Regions from separate parts of the Homo sapiens genome. Here region 2 is linked to region 1. The links are contacts of gene promoters, found by promoter capture Hi-C in blood cells and fetal thymus (Javierre and others, 2016). All regions are on one chromosome and are shown on one strand. Each heading gives the region's core, a stretch centred on a gene start or on the middle of the fragment in contact. The rest is flanking DNA. Distances are from core to core; before and after follow the strand shown. Region 1 holds the start of STK24 (serine/threonine kinase 24). Region 2 overlaps GGACT (gamma-glutamylamine cyclotransferase).

Region 1 (6,536 bases), core at 2,488-4,987:
AACAACAAATGCTCAATGAAAGACGGAGTACTTATAGCCACAGATCAGCCTGATTTCTTTATGTTTATTCGTCACTATATTCATTCAGTTTCTGATGTCTATTTTTTTCCCCTACTGAAATATAAAACTGGGGTTTAAGAGAAAAAAAGCAAAGGCTTCAGCAACTTTCATTAAACATTTACTTTAAATGGTAACCTCATTCAGATCTACCACTTTCAACCCCTCCCCTAGGACCTGGCACATGAAAGTTCAATAAGGGTTGCTGATTGAATAAATTAAAAAATCAGCCTCCTATTTCTAATTTCTTTAGCCAATCTAACTAGCAATGAGATAAACTTTAATGTTTGCAAAAGTAACCATAAAACAGTAACACTGCATGATGAGTGGGAGTAGGAGGAGTAGTAGTTTCCAATCACAAATTTGCCACATAATATATGATCTCACCTTGGTCAGTTAAGTCTTCCTTGGTCTCCACATCTACAAAATGGTATAATATCATCTACATCTCAAACGGTACCGGTAAGAATCAAGAGGCATAAAAATGATTTGCAAAACATTGAAAAATGGTGTTTATACTAACATGGTTGTTATTTTTCAAGCATCCTTGCCTAGGCCACCTGAATTCACTCTGCTTTATTTTTTTATTTTATTTTTTTTTTTGAGACGGAGTCTGCCTCTGTCGCCCAGGCTGGGGTGCAACGGCACAATCTCAGCTCAACGCAACCTCCGCCTCCCGGGTTCAAGTGATTCTCCTGCCTCAGCCTCCCGAGTAGCTGGGATTACAGGCGTGTGCCACCACGCCCAGCTAATTTTTTGGATTTTTAGTAGAAACAGGGTTTCACCATGTTAGCCAGGATGGTCTCGATCTCCTGACCTCATGATCCGCCCACTTCGGCCTCTCAAACTGCTGAGATTACAGACTCTGCTGTCTTTCTAAGCCAACTCCTTATAAGCCCTGGTCAGGAGACAAGAAAAAGGGAGGGCTATGAGGCCTATCAGAGCAAGCCATAGAAGAGATACGGACTTCTCTCCTCCCATTTAGCAGACAACAGTCGAAAGCAGGTGTGTTTTTAATTGAATCTTCAGCAACAACTCTTAGGGAAGCCTCCCAGGGCAGTAGCAACTGCTAATTTGAAGTAGAAAATAAATGTGCTGTTGTTTTTCTTTTGTGGGGTGGGGGAGGAGAAAAGAATGTTCTTCCCCAAATGATACACTGTTACCATACAGTCTGTAGATGTACTTAGGTACAGGAATGACTGGCAGAAGCCAACTTACCTACCTCTAAAACTGTAAAACTGTAACAGCTGAAAATCTGATCATCTTTTCCACTGAGAAACACTTAAGATCTTTCATACTGAGAAAACAAAATAAAAACAGTTCCCATGTAACACAACCTAACAGATACATAATAGTTGAGAGGCAAAGTTATTAAGGAAATGTATCTTCTTTTCCCAAGGTTTAAGAATTCTGACCCACTCAAAAAAAAAAGTGAGGATAAAAATGAAAAGGTGAGATACTAGATATCACCTGGTAACCATCTGATACTGACTTCACGGCACCAGCCAAAGGGGCTTTAGTACCTTTTCAAACTGATTCGCTATCCACAAAGGCCAATTAACCTAGTAAGTGAGGCATTTGTGCTAGATTCCAACCTGATGAACACGGTATAAATATCAACCTAAAGGAAATATTGATAAAACTTTTTTTTTAAATCATTACAAGAGTCCTTTCTTGCTCGACTAGTAAGAAATTACTTTTTTCACCCAGTTCACTCTGACCTACACACCTCTAAATTCATACCAAAGCGGCTTTAGAAAATACCAAGAAACCACATCTGATTGTTACCCAGCAGTCAGCAGAAGTTTAGGTTTTGAATGCATGCTAAATTCAACGCTCCTTAAATGAGAGTCGACAAAAGAATATTCTTCAAGCATCTTCCCAGTCACTCTTAAGATAATAACTTAACTGTTGCTGCTTAAATGTATATTTATTTACTGCTTAAACATATATACACACATATATATACTGCTTATATATACACACACACACACACACACACATATACACACACACACACTTGGACTAAAATTCTAGCTGCCATTAAAGTGGTAACTTTGAGTTCCTATTTTTCCAGAATTCAAACCTGAACAGTGAAATCCAGTTTTCTTTTTACGGTTTCAAAAAAAGAAGGGAGAGGGATGATCTCACTGGAAGAGGCGAGCAGACCCCAGAGGCAGTCCCAGGTCTGGGCTCTGTGCTTCTCAGCCCTCAAGACACAGGGAAGGAGCCTGTTGGTACCTGTAAATCAACCAGTAATCTACTTGGATGCTTTTGGTTTTCTTCAAACACTTAACGTTCACTCAGCTAAACTGGCAGAGCAAACTTTCATGACATATCCTAACTGCATCCTAAGATTTCCATCCTAAGCATTTTGCCACCATTTCTGCGCCTACAAAGTTTACAAGAGTTAGCCAAGGACGGTAGCTTTGTTTTTCAAAGGGCTAAAAGCAACGACAACGAAAACAACAACAACAAAAAACCTTTAACTTATACATGTAAATTTGAAATTCAACTCCTCTCCCACTCCCCAAAAAGTCACTGGTAGGCCAAGGTGTCACCAAGTACCGAAAGAGAGGTTTACTGGGCGAAGAATTCCTGTAAATGCAACCAAGTCTCAAAGTGAAAGTCCAGGGTCCCGGGGCCGGGCCCGGGACCCTGGTGCGCGGCTGTCCGAGGGATTCCTCCTTCCAGAAGGTTTGCAACTCGCACTTTCCCCCGGTCCGCAGGTGCACGGGGGCTCCGGGCAAAGCCACTGCAAGTGGAACTCGCGGTTACCTTCCTCCACTCCACCCTGCCTACTCCGCTCGGGCCCGGACGAGTCCAGGCGCGCTCCCCGTCCCCGCCCTGCCCAGGTCTCCCGCCCGCCTGCCCGGGGGTGGGGGACGAGCCTGGGGGACGCGTCCTGGGGCCCTCCGCCAACCCGGCCACCACGCAGGGCCCCGGGACCCGGCGGGGGCCTCCAAGGGCATCACTCCACCTCACTTCTCCCGGGGACAGGGCCACCCAGGGCCTGCAGCTCCGGAAGAGTGTTGGGGCGAGGGGAGCGCGGAGGACTAGGCGCCCGCACCCCCACATCCGGACCCAGGCCGCGGTTCCTACGGCTCCTGCACGCACACGCCGGAGACCTCGGCCGCCGGAGCCGGCAGGGACGCCCAGGGACTCGGACTCGGACCCCCGGCCGAGCCGGGCGCGCGGGGAGCCAGGCTCCGGCGCGACCCCGGCCGGCTGAGCGTAGGGGGACGCCGTGTGGATACCGCCAAGTTGCTGCTTCCGCCCCGGTCGCGCATCCCGGCCCCGCGGCCCGCGCCCGCCTACCTGCATGCCGGGCAGGCCCGACTGCACCGGGGAGTGAGCCATGGCGCTCAGGACGGCCACTTCCTGGGACGGGACGGCCGGGCCGCGACGATCCGCGCGGGGCGGCGAGGCCCGCGGGCCGCGCGCAGCCCTCGGGCGGCGGGGCCGGCCGGAGCCCGAGGCCACCCCAGCCCTGGCGGGTCCCGGCCGGGCGGCGGGGGCTCAGCGGCGGGTGGCGGGCCGCGTCTCCATGCACGGCGCCAGGGAGGAGCTGCTGGGGGCGCAGGGCCTCGCGCGCACTGCCGCCGCCGCCGCTGCTGCCGCTACTGCTGGGCTGGAGCCGGGCGGCCTGGGCCCGCGCGCGCTGGCCGCTGGAGCCGGAGTGGGCGCGCACAGCCCGCCGAGCCCGCGAGCGCCGAGCGCGTCCCGCCCCGGCCCGGCCCCCGCGCCCGCCCCCACGGCCCGGCCGGGGACCCCGCCCCGCGCTTCCGGGAGGGGGAGGGGAGAGGCCGGTGGCCGCGCGGGAGCCCTAGGCCGCAGCCGCCGCCTGTCGGCCCGGCCCGGGTCCCAGCTGCTCCTGCGGCGCTCCCACGCCCCCGCGGGCGGGCGGCGGGGCCGGGAGGGGGCCTCGGCTGGGGCGGGCGCCGGGAGGGACCGAGTCGGGGCCGGAGGCTGGCCGCGTGCCCACCGGGCCGGCGCCGGGGCGAGCCTGGGCCGCGGCCCCCTCTTCCCGCCAGCCAGCCCACCCCGCCCCGGCGGCCTCTGGGAAAACGCGTCCCGGGCGAGCCCCTGAGGGCAGGATCGGAGTCGGGGGCACCTGGGGAAGGAGAGCGCCCCGTGGGGCCTCGGCCGGTGGCCTGTGCCAAAAGGCCGGGCAGAGCTGCTTCGGTGTCTGGGTGAAGTTTCCAGCCAACCCAAGAAGGAAACCGAAAGGGAAGAGGCCGAGAGAGAGGTTAATTCCTAGTGCTTTGGTTACCGAAAACAGCCCGGCTGGGACTGCTGGGCTGGGAACTTAGCTAAGCAGTGCGGAGGCTGAACCCCACCATCTCTGGGATCCGCAGCAAATCAGAAGCCCCCACCCACGATAAGGGGAAAATGGGGCGCAGAGGGCAGGGAGGAAGGGAAGAGAATGGAAGGAAAGCGCGTCTGGACTTTGAACTGCAGCCCTCTCCCTCTTTCCCTTGCCTCGGAAGCTCCAGGCCCACTCAGCACCAGTTCTGTCTCCTCTTTTCAGCCGCCTTCTCTCTAGCTACTGAGGGGAAAAGTCAGGATGAAGCGGGTCCCTCGGCCTCCAGAAGGTGTTTTATTACAGTCGCAAACAGGTAGAGCGGCAGCCACCCCAGTGATGACTCCCTGCTCCTTAGATTGTAGGGACGCTGGCACCTCACTCATGCTCCTAAGTGGCCATTTTGCGCCCTGGCTGGGCGAGTTAGGCAGACAAAATGAGCCCCCAAAAGTTTAAAGGCCTCCACCAAAGGAGTATTTCTTTTCTGAGGTGTCATTGTATTCCATCCACGAACTTCAGTTCCCCCGGGTGCTCTGGATCTGACATGGAGTAGGATGCTAACATCTAATCCCTTCTTTCCCTTTGGAAAGATGCATGTTTTTTCTCGGAGTCCTAGGGAATACCTTAGAATACTTTCATGGTTGTCATTGGTACACCCATCCCTTGAGGAGCCCTGCCACCCGTAAGTAGGACTGCAAGGAAATACAAAATTAAGAGAAGTATGAACCCTGATACCCAGGAACTTAAAATCAGGTGTATAAATTTTGTACACCTAAAAAATATGGTACCTAAAGAGGCGAACAGCAAAACAAGCAAGAATGTGAATCTTTAAAATGTTTCTATTCTTCAGCGCAGCCCAGGAATTCTACCTAAAGTAACATATCCTAAGGCAACAACCAAGAAGTGTGGAAGAATGCATGTAAGAAGACACAGTGATGTTTAGAATCCTGGGGAAACGGAACAGCCAAAAAGTCTCACAGAGGTTAAGTAAATAATAGCATTTTCATACGAGTACTATGTAGTCATTTAAAATTATGTCTTTCAGTACCTAGTAATGGGGAAAATGTATTCATTATATATTATTAAAGAAAATACAGGGTACAAAACACTGTATATAGACTGATCTCAAATGACTATATATATATTAATATATATGGCCTACAGACACACAGTCATGTATTGCTTAACAATGGGTATACATTCTGAGAAATGTGTTCTTAGTTGATTTTGTCACGTGAGCATCATAGAGTGTACTTCCAGAAACCTAGATGGCATAGCCTACTACACACCTAGGCTATATGGTATGACGTATTGCACCTGGACCACAAACCTGAACAGCATGTGACTGAACTCAATACTGGAGGCAACTATAACACAATGGTAAATATTTGTGGATCTAAACATGTCTAAGCATAGAAAAGGGACAGTAAAAATATTCTTCTAGGGTCAGCAGAGCCAGGGCAATAACCTGGCACCAAGATAAAGAGCAAGAAACTAGATGAATGGATGGAAATGTCTGGATGCTGATCTGAGACATTACCATGGTAAATGCTCAGAAATCACTTTGCAGTGGGCTAATTGCCAGCAAATAAGTCACAGCAGATGGGGGACAAAGGCCCATAGTACCCTGGGTATAAAAAAATAACCGGAATCCTAGTTTGTGTCCTGAGGCTAGTGAGGCTCAAAACAGGGAGATTCCGGCAGGATGTAACTTCTCTGGACACAGTGACTTGCATCCATTAGCTGGTCTGTTGCCCCGAACCCTGTTTATCTTCTCTCCACACTGACCATTGTTTCATCCTTTGACAATGTTCATACTGTTGAGCACCATTCTTATCGAAAGAAGGGAAGGAAGCAACATGGGAGTTACTGGTTCTCCTTGGCCCTATGCAGGTAGTACCGAGTATTCCCCATGGCAGAAGTAGGTCTCCACCTTATTTGTTTTTGCACAACAGAGATGATGCACAGGGCCTGAGCCCGGGATCAGATCCGGTGCAATTGCCTATTATGTTCATTCATTCACACCTTTTTTGAATACCAACTATTAATACATGTCAGATACCCAGTTCAGTACTGGGCATATAAACATTAGATCCTCAGGTGCCTCTTAACCCATCCTAGGGACCTGGTCTCCCAGAATCCTAACTTTGGATGAATACAATACCATAATTGATTA
Region 2 (6,536 bases), core at 2,401-4,900, 2.0 Mb after region 1:
GATGGCAATTCCAACACTGTGATACACACATATGTACTGAACAAGTAGGCAAATGTGCCACAGGCAATGGGAGCCACGTTTCTCACTGTTGGAATGGGAGGTGAGAGACAGCAGGGAAAACGCAAGAGTGATCCACGGGGTAAAGGATTAGGGCTGGAGACACCAGTGTGGACTCACAGAAACAAATGGTTCCATACAGAAGTATTTAGTGATATGTGTATATACACAGGTCAGTACACACAGACATTTCCTTGCTCCATCAGCTGAGAGGACCTAAAAGCAATGCCACCACAGTCGAAATGAGCACACCAGCATCCAGCTTGTGGTTTCTAACACCATCTCCAACAGAGGGGACCAGGGTTCCCCAGAGAAACGGCTGAACCTAAGACTGAAGCAGGAAATACACAAGATCAATCTAGGGCATCTAGCAATATTGGAAAGCAAGGAAGTGCTCAAAAATAAACAAACCCACCAGCCCACAAAGATGGGACAAGTTGAAAGGACACAAGAGACAATGGAACAGGCTCCCAATGGCCAAAGCAGGAACAACTGGAGAACAAAATAAGGAGTATTGGATTAGAACCTAAAGTATAATATAAGTATCTGTGAGTCCATAATGATATAAATGGCTGAGTAAATAAATGCAAGAAAACAGATAACCCTCCTGCACGGAAGAATTCCAAATAACATATGTAGACACTTTCCCCTTAAGGAGATGAAGCCTAAATAACTCCTCCCTTCAGAAGTGCAGGCTGCTCACTGTGACTTCCTTTCAGAGCACAGTATGAAGGGAGGGGGAAAGTGTGACTTTACAGTGGAGAAACCTGCCAATCACTATTTCAGTCAGGTAATCAAGATCAACAGCAAAAGAGAGAAGTCATGTAGACAGTATGTGTGCTTGATACGATGTAGCAAAAATGACACTTTATCTCCATGGTCTTCCTCCCAATCCCCACACCCCTGTGGCAGTGACTCTGTGGGGTGAGGGCTAAAGCAAATAATAAATTATGCTGGGTTGTTCTGAACTGAGATTTCTGGAGTGGAAGAAAGGGGTATGGATATAAGTTCTATGACATTAAGCAAAAACGTTGTAGTCCAGAAAAAGACTTGGATGTTACCAGTATGCGCTCATGAAATATTTTATCTTGAACAATGGTTTTCCCTGTCTCTGTCTGTTGAAATGGCTTAAAAACAACTGCCAATCCAACAGCAATGAGCACCTTATTAGGGCCAGATTATGGCCTTTAAGTACCATTTTTCACTTTAAAACAGCTAACCAGGGCTCCTTGGAGAAACAGCTGATTTCAGATTTGGGGCAATAAATCTGACCATAACTTCCTCTTACTGTTGGGAGGAACTTCAAAACTTATGATGACCTACAGAATCCTCTCTCCCTGGCTCCCTCTCCAGTCCCATCTCCTCCCTGCCAAGGACTCAGCCACATTCACCTTCTTTTGTCTCCTCAAATCTGTGGTTGGCAGAATAATGGCCACCCAAAGATGTTTACATCCTAATCCCTGGAACCTATGAATATGTTAACTCCTATGCCAAAAGGGACTTCACAGATGTGAGGACCTTGAGGTGCAGAGATCAATCTGGATTATCCAAGTGGGCCCAATCTAATCAAATGAGGAATCCTTAAAACTGGAAAACCTGCCCTGGATCAGATCAGACAGATGTGACGACAAAAGCAGGGTCAGAGAAGGGTAATATTGTTAGCTTTGAATATGGAGGAAAGGGCCAATAAGCCAAGGAATGCAGGTGGCCTCTAGCAGCTGCAAAAAGGAAGAAAACAGATTCTCCCTAGAGCCTCCAGACAGCTGTTATTATACACATATTTTTAATTAAAAAGTCCAAAATCACCCAGCTAGTAAGTGGCAGTGTCAGGACGAGAAGCCAGGCGGTCTGACACAGAAGTTGGTGCCCTTAACCATGATGCTAATATTTGTCTCCCACATAATAGAAATTCCAACACCTTTTTCATTCATTAACATGATACCCTCCAGTGTTCAGAATAGCTTAATAAATAGCTGCTGAATATGAATGAATGGGACAAAGATATAACTTCCCCCTGCTATTTTTTTCTTGGTAAAAAAAACTGTGTTATGGAAAGTAAAATATGTACAAAACTAGGGTAATGATAGAAGGAACTCTCAAATACTCATCTCCCAACTTCAACACTTAGCAACATACGGCCAATCTTAATGCCAACATTAGTTTGGTATTTATTGTCTGGAAATACTCCCCCTTCAATAATCTTTTTCAGAATCACATGTTCCTAGCTCTCATTACATTTTCATTTATCTGTGTTAACACGAATTTTTAAAAGAAACCTTAAAATGGGCAAGTCTTTCTAAGCAAAACACAAAACAAAGACACTATAAAGGGGAGATCGATATTTTTAAGTACATAAAATTAAAATTTTTTGCAAAGCCTAGAGACTGTATTACACAAAGTACAAAAAATAGGGTGGAAATAGTTATAGTACGTATGACAAAAGATTAGTATTCTCAATGTATAAATAATTCTTATAAATCAAAAGACAACCCCAGAGAAAAACAGATGAAGAAATGAATATACACTTTCTCTACTATTCTTTCCTTCCCTTTCCCTCCTCCTTTAATTTTTTGAGACAGGGTCTCACTCTGTTGCCCAGGCTGGAGCACAATGGCATAATCAGTGTAATCACAGCTCACTGCAGCCTCAATCTCCTGGGATCAAACAATCCTCCTGCCTCAGCCTCCTAAAGTGCTGGAATTACAGTACAAGCCACCGTACCTGGCTCCCCACCACTACTATTCTTAAATGACAAAGAGACAAGGGCTTCCAACTGGCACTATTTGTCAGCATACTTCTTGTGGTGCTCTAGAATTTGAGCAATGAACACTCTAGAACAGAGGCTAACAGTTCTCACCTGTAAGCTTGTTTCTTCAAGGAAGTGTTGCCTTAGAATCCAGATCCACAGTAAGCCTGAGAGTCTTAAAAACTTTTGACTTCAGAATCCTTCCACATGATTCAAGAAAAAGTTAAGTCCACTTCACAGGGTGACCAGAAAGTCCATGGGGACCAAATATCCAGTTTTCAGTCCTGTTGGGAGGTGAGATAAGAGGAAGTCAACTGAAGAAAGTTAAACATTTAAGCAATAAGGGGCTTACAAACAAACATAAATGACCTAACTACCATTAGAAGGCAATCTCAGACCCTGGGCACATACCCAGGGAAGGAATATACTTATATTCAGTGCAAAAATGCAGTCCACATGCTTGAGGGGCCAAAGAATGCCTTGAATAGAGGAACCTTCCCAGTGACCTAGAGAAAGGGTTCAAAGTTCTCAAGACCTCCTTGACAAAATGTGGTACATATACACAATGAAGTACTATTCAGCCATTAAAAAGGAGATCCTGTCATTTGCAACAATATGGTGCAGCCGGAGGTCGTTATGTGACGTGAAATAACCCAGACACAGAAAGACAAACTTTGCATGTTCTTACTCATTTGTGGGAGCCAAAAATTAAAACAATTGAACTGACTGAGATAGAGATCAGAATGATGGTTACCAGAGGCTAGGAAGGGTAGTAGGGGGGTTGGGGGAAAGCAGAGATGGTTAATGGGTACAAAAACACAGAAAGCAGGAATAAGATCTAGTATTTGATAGCACAACAGGGTGACTATAGTCAGTAATAATGTAACTATACATTTAAAAATAACTAAGAGTATCGTTAGATTGTAACACAAAAGATAAATGCTTGAGGTGATGGATACCCCATTTACCCTGATGTGATTATTACACATTGTATCTCATATACCTTGTAATGAGGGTTTATTATTACACATTGTATCTCATATACACCTATTACTAGGTACCCACAAAAATTAACTATCAAAAAAGAACTATTTGAGAAATAACAGCTCTATATACTCTCCTACAAATAAGAAAAGTAAAAAGAAAAAGAAAAAATGTCTTCTCAGCCATCAGGCAAAGCCAATTTTAGTAATGCTGAGCTCCTATTTTGGTAATGTTGAGCTTCTTTGATTCTTTGATGAGGGTTTCCAAGTCTTTAAAGTCAGATAAATTTAGATTTAAAAAAAGTCAAACCACTTCTGAAGTAGACTTGCCAAAAATGGCAAGCATGAACCTAATTAAGCCTCTAGATCTAACTTCTAGTTTACAGGAAATATAGGGGATAGAGAAGCAAGCCAAACCACACTCCACGAAAAGCAGCCCAACAGATCCAGAGTGTGAGGCACCCTACAGGCAATCAACCAAGTAACATCGACAGTCATTGGTATTGAGGAAACCCGCCAAGGCTGCTCTAGACTTGGGTCGGCAAACCACAGCCTGCGGGTAAGTCCAGCCTGTGGGTGGATTTTAAAACACAAAAGCTTTGGAAATTAAGTATTATTGGAACACAGCCATGCTTATCCATTTACTATCACCCCTGGCTACTTCTGCATGACGATGGCAGAGCTGAGCAGTTGTGGCAGAGACCATAGGGCCTGCAAAGCCTGAAAGAGCTGGTATCTGGCTCTTCACAGAGACATCTGCCACCCCTGCCCTAGATTGAAAGGGGCAACAGCTGAGCACGGTGGCTCACGGCTGTAATCGCAGCACTTTGGGAGGCAGAGGCAGGTGGATCACTTGAGTTCAGGAGCTCCAGACCAGTGTGGCCAACATGGTGAAACCCCGTCTCTACTAAAAATACAAAAATTAGTTGGGTGTGGTGGCATGCGCCTGTAGTCCCAGCTACTTGGGAGGCTGAGGCATGAGAATCACTTGAACCCAGGAGGCGGAGGTTGCAGTGAGCCAAGATTGTGCCACTGCACTCCAGCCTGGGTGACAAGAGTGAGTGAGACTCCGTCTCAGGAAGGAAAAAAAAAAAAAAGACCAGCCTGGGCAATACCTGTCTCCACCAAAAAAAAAAAAAAAAAAAAAAAAAAAAAAAAATAGCTGGGCATTGTGGCACATGCCTGTAATCCCAACTACTCAGGAGGCTGAGGTGGGAGGATGGCTTGAATCCAGGAGTTCGAGGTTACAGTGAGCCATGATCTCAGCAGAGCTGGTTCCTGTCTCAAAAAATAAAATAAAATAAAAAGGTAACAGTCAACAAATTCTTGTCTGGATGTGGATTCAAACAAACCAACAGTAAAAATAAGTTCATTTTTGAGGTGATCAGGGAAATCTGATCATGGACTAGGTTTTAGAAAATGTTAAGGAATTATTGTCAATTTCATCAGGAGGTGATAATTGTATTATGGTTACACAAGCAAATGCCCTTTCTCTGGAGAAACATACTGAACAATTTAGGGGTGAAGTGTTATGTTGTCTGGAATAAACTGCTTTAAACTGCTTCAGCCACAACCAAAAAAAGAAAAAAAAAGATGAAGTGGATATGGCCAAACAAGACTTGTGAAGTCCATTTGATGGATATATGGAAATTCATTCTACTTTGCTGGGCTTTTATGTTTGCTTAAAATTTTCCCAATAAGCAAAACAAACAAACAAACAAAATCAGAACCTTGATCAAAATGTAGAGGTTATCACTGGAGAGCCTTGCTTTCCAGGCACCCCCACCCCCGACCCCACCCCTCCTCTCGCGGAGTCCAGCCTCAGCACGCCAGTTGTTCACCTTTGTCTGAACACACTGTCATTTTCAGCTTCTTATTTTTGCTCATGGTGTTGGCCACCCTTTCCATTCCTGTGCCTATAAAAATCTGTTCTCTGCTTAAGGTCTCCCCAACTGTGACCTTCTCCTGGCCCTCCAGTGAGCACTCACCTCTCAGTTCCAACAGCACACTGCCTCTGGTTTCATTCTTCGCTACGTTCTAGCTATTTACCAGGTCTGTTACCTCATGATGCCATACAATCCCAGAGACTTCCAATAGCTAAGTCTTTTCTGTAAATCCATTTAAGGGGGTATCACGATGCCTTTTACGGAGCAAGCTCCGCAGTCCAGGGGCAGGTCCTCACGGCCTAAACACGGCTGCCTTATCCTGAGTAGTTTTACTGACAATAGAGCTTCAACTGAAGAATGAATTCCTGTTCAGCAGGACACTGGGCAGTCATGTTTAATTGAGAACTCTTAAAATTCCTAATAGAGTTTGCCTAGATGGAGGATGTTCTAAAGAGGGCTGCGAATATTTCGTGTTTCTGTCCTCTTACTGTCACCTTTCCTTGGGTCCTGTCCCCTCTTCAAGCATGGCTGCACTACACTTCCACACCAGCCTGCTGGTGTCCTAATCACTGGTAAGGGCCCTGGCTCGAGGTGGATACAAAGCCTCCCAATGACTTCACTTCAAGAATGGACACAGATTGGAAATCTTACTAGTAAAGAGAGAAATGAACAGATCATTTTAAAATCCCTCTTCTATTCTGCTTACTGCTACCTACTATCCAGATCACCACAAACAACCACCCTCTCCTAACTAGTAGTAGTTAGGGCCTGGTTAGTAAAATCAACTAGCCCAAAGTATTTCCGTACAAAAATCCACCAATTAGAAATTAATTTAACTTTGCAAACTCAGCTTTTACAATACGA

Evidence for each region. Contacts are between HindIII fragments. The CHiCAGO score rates a contact against its expected background, and 5 or more counts as called.
Region 2: a fragment that was not itself captured here is called in contact with the fragment with the promoter of STK24 in region 1 in 1 of 17 cell types (activated CD4 T cells); the score reaches 5.9 in activated CD4 T cells.

What each region holds. Positions count from the first base shown.
Region 1 is chr13:98,573,370-98,579,905 of GRCh38, forward strand. STK24 (serine/threonine kinase 24) reads right to left here and starts at 3,738. Exons shown (of 11, transcript NM_001032296.4): 1 at 3,376-3,738. The coding sequence starts at 3,417. STK24-AS1 (STK24 antisense RNA 1) reads left to right here and starts at 3,886. Exons shown (of 1, transcript NR_046542.1): 1 at 3,886-5,472. RefSeq lists silencers at 1,248-1,307, 2,772-3,641, 3,692-4,001, 4,022-4,171 and an enhancer at 4,262-4,451. The HindIII fragment of the contact is 9,197 bases long and covers 1-6,536 here.
Region 2 is chr13:100,580,911-100,587,446 of GRCh38, forward strand. It overlaps GGACT (gamma-glutamylamine cyclotransferase), which reads right to left. Exons shown (of 3, transcript NM_001195087.2): 2 at 2,915-3,087. Among named protein-coding and RNA genes, the nearest start is that of GGACT, 4.6 kb to the right of the region's middle. The HindIII fragment of the contact is 1,462 bases long and covers 2,920-4,381 here.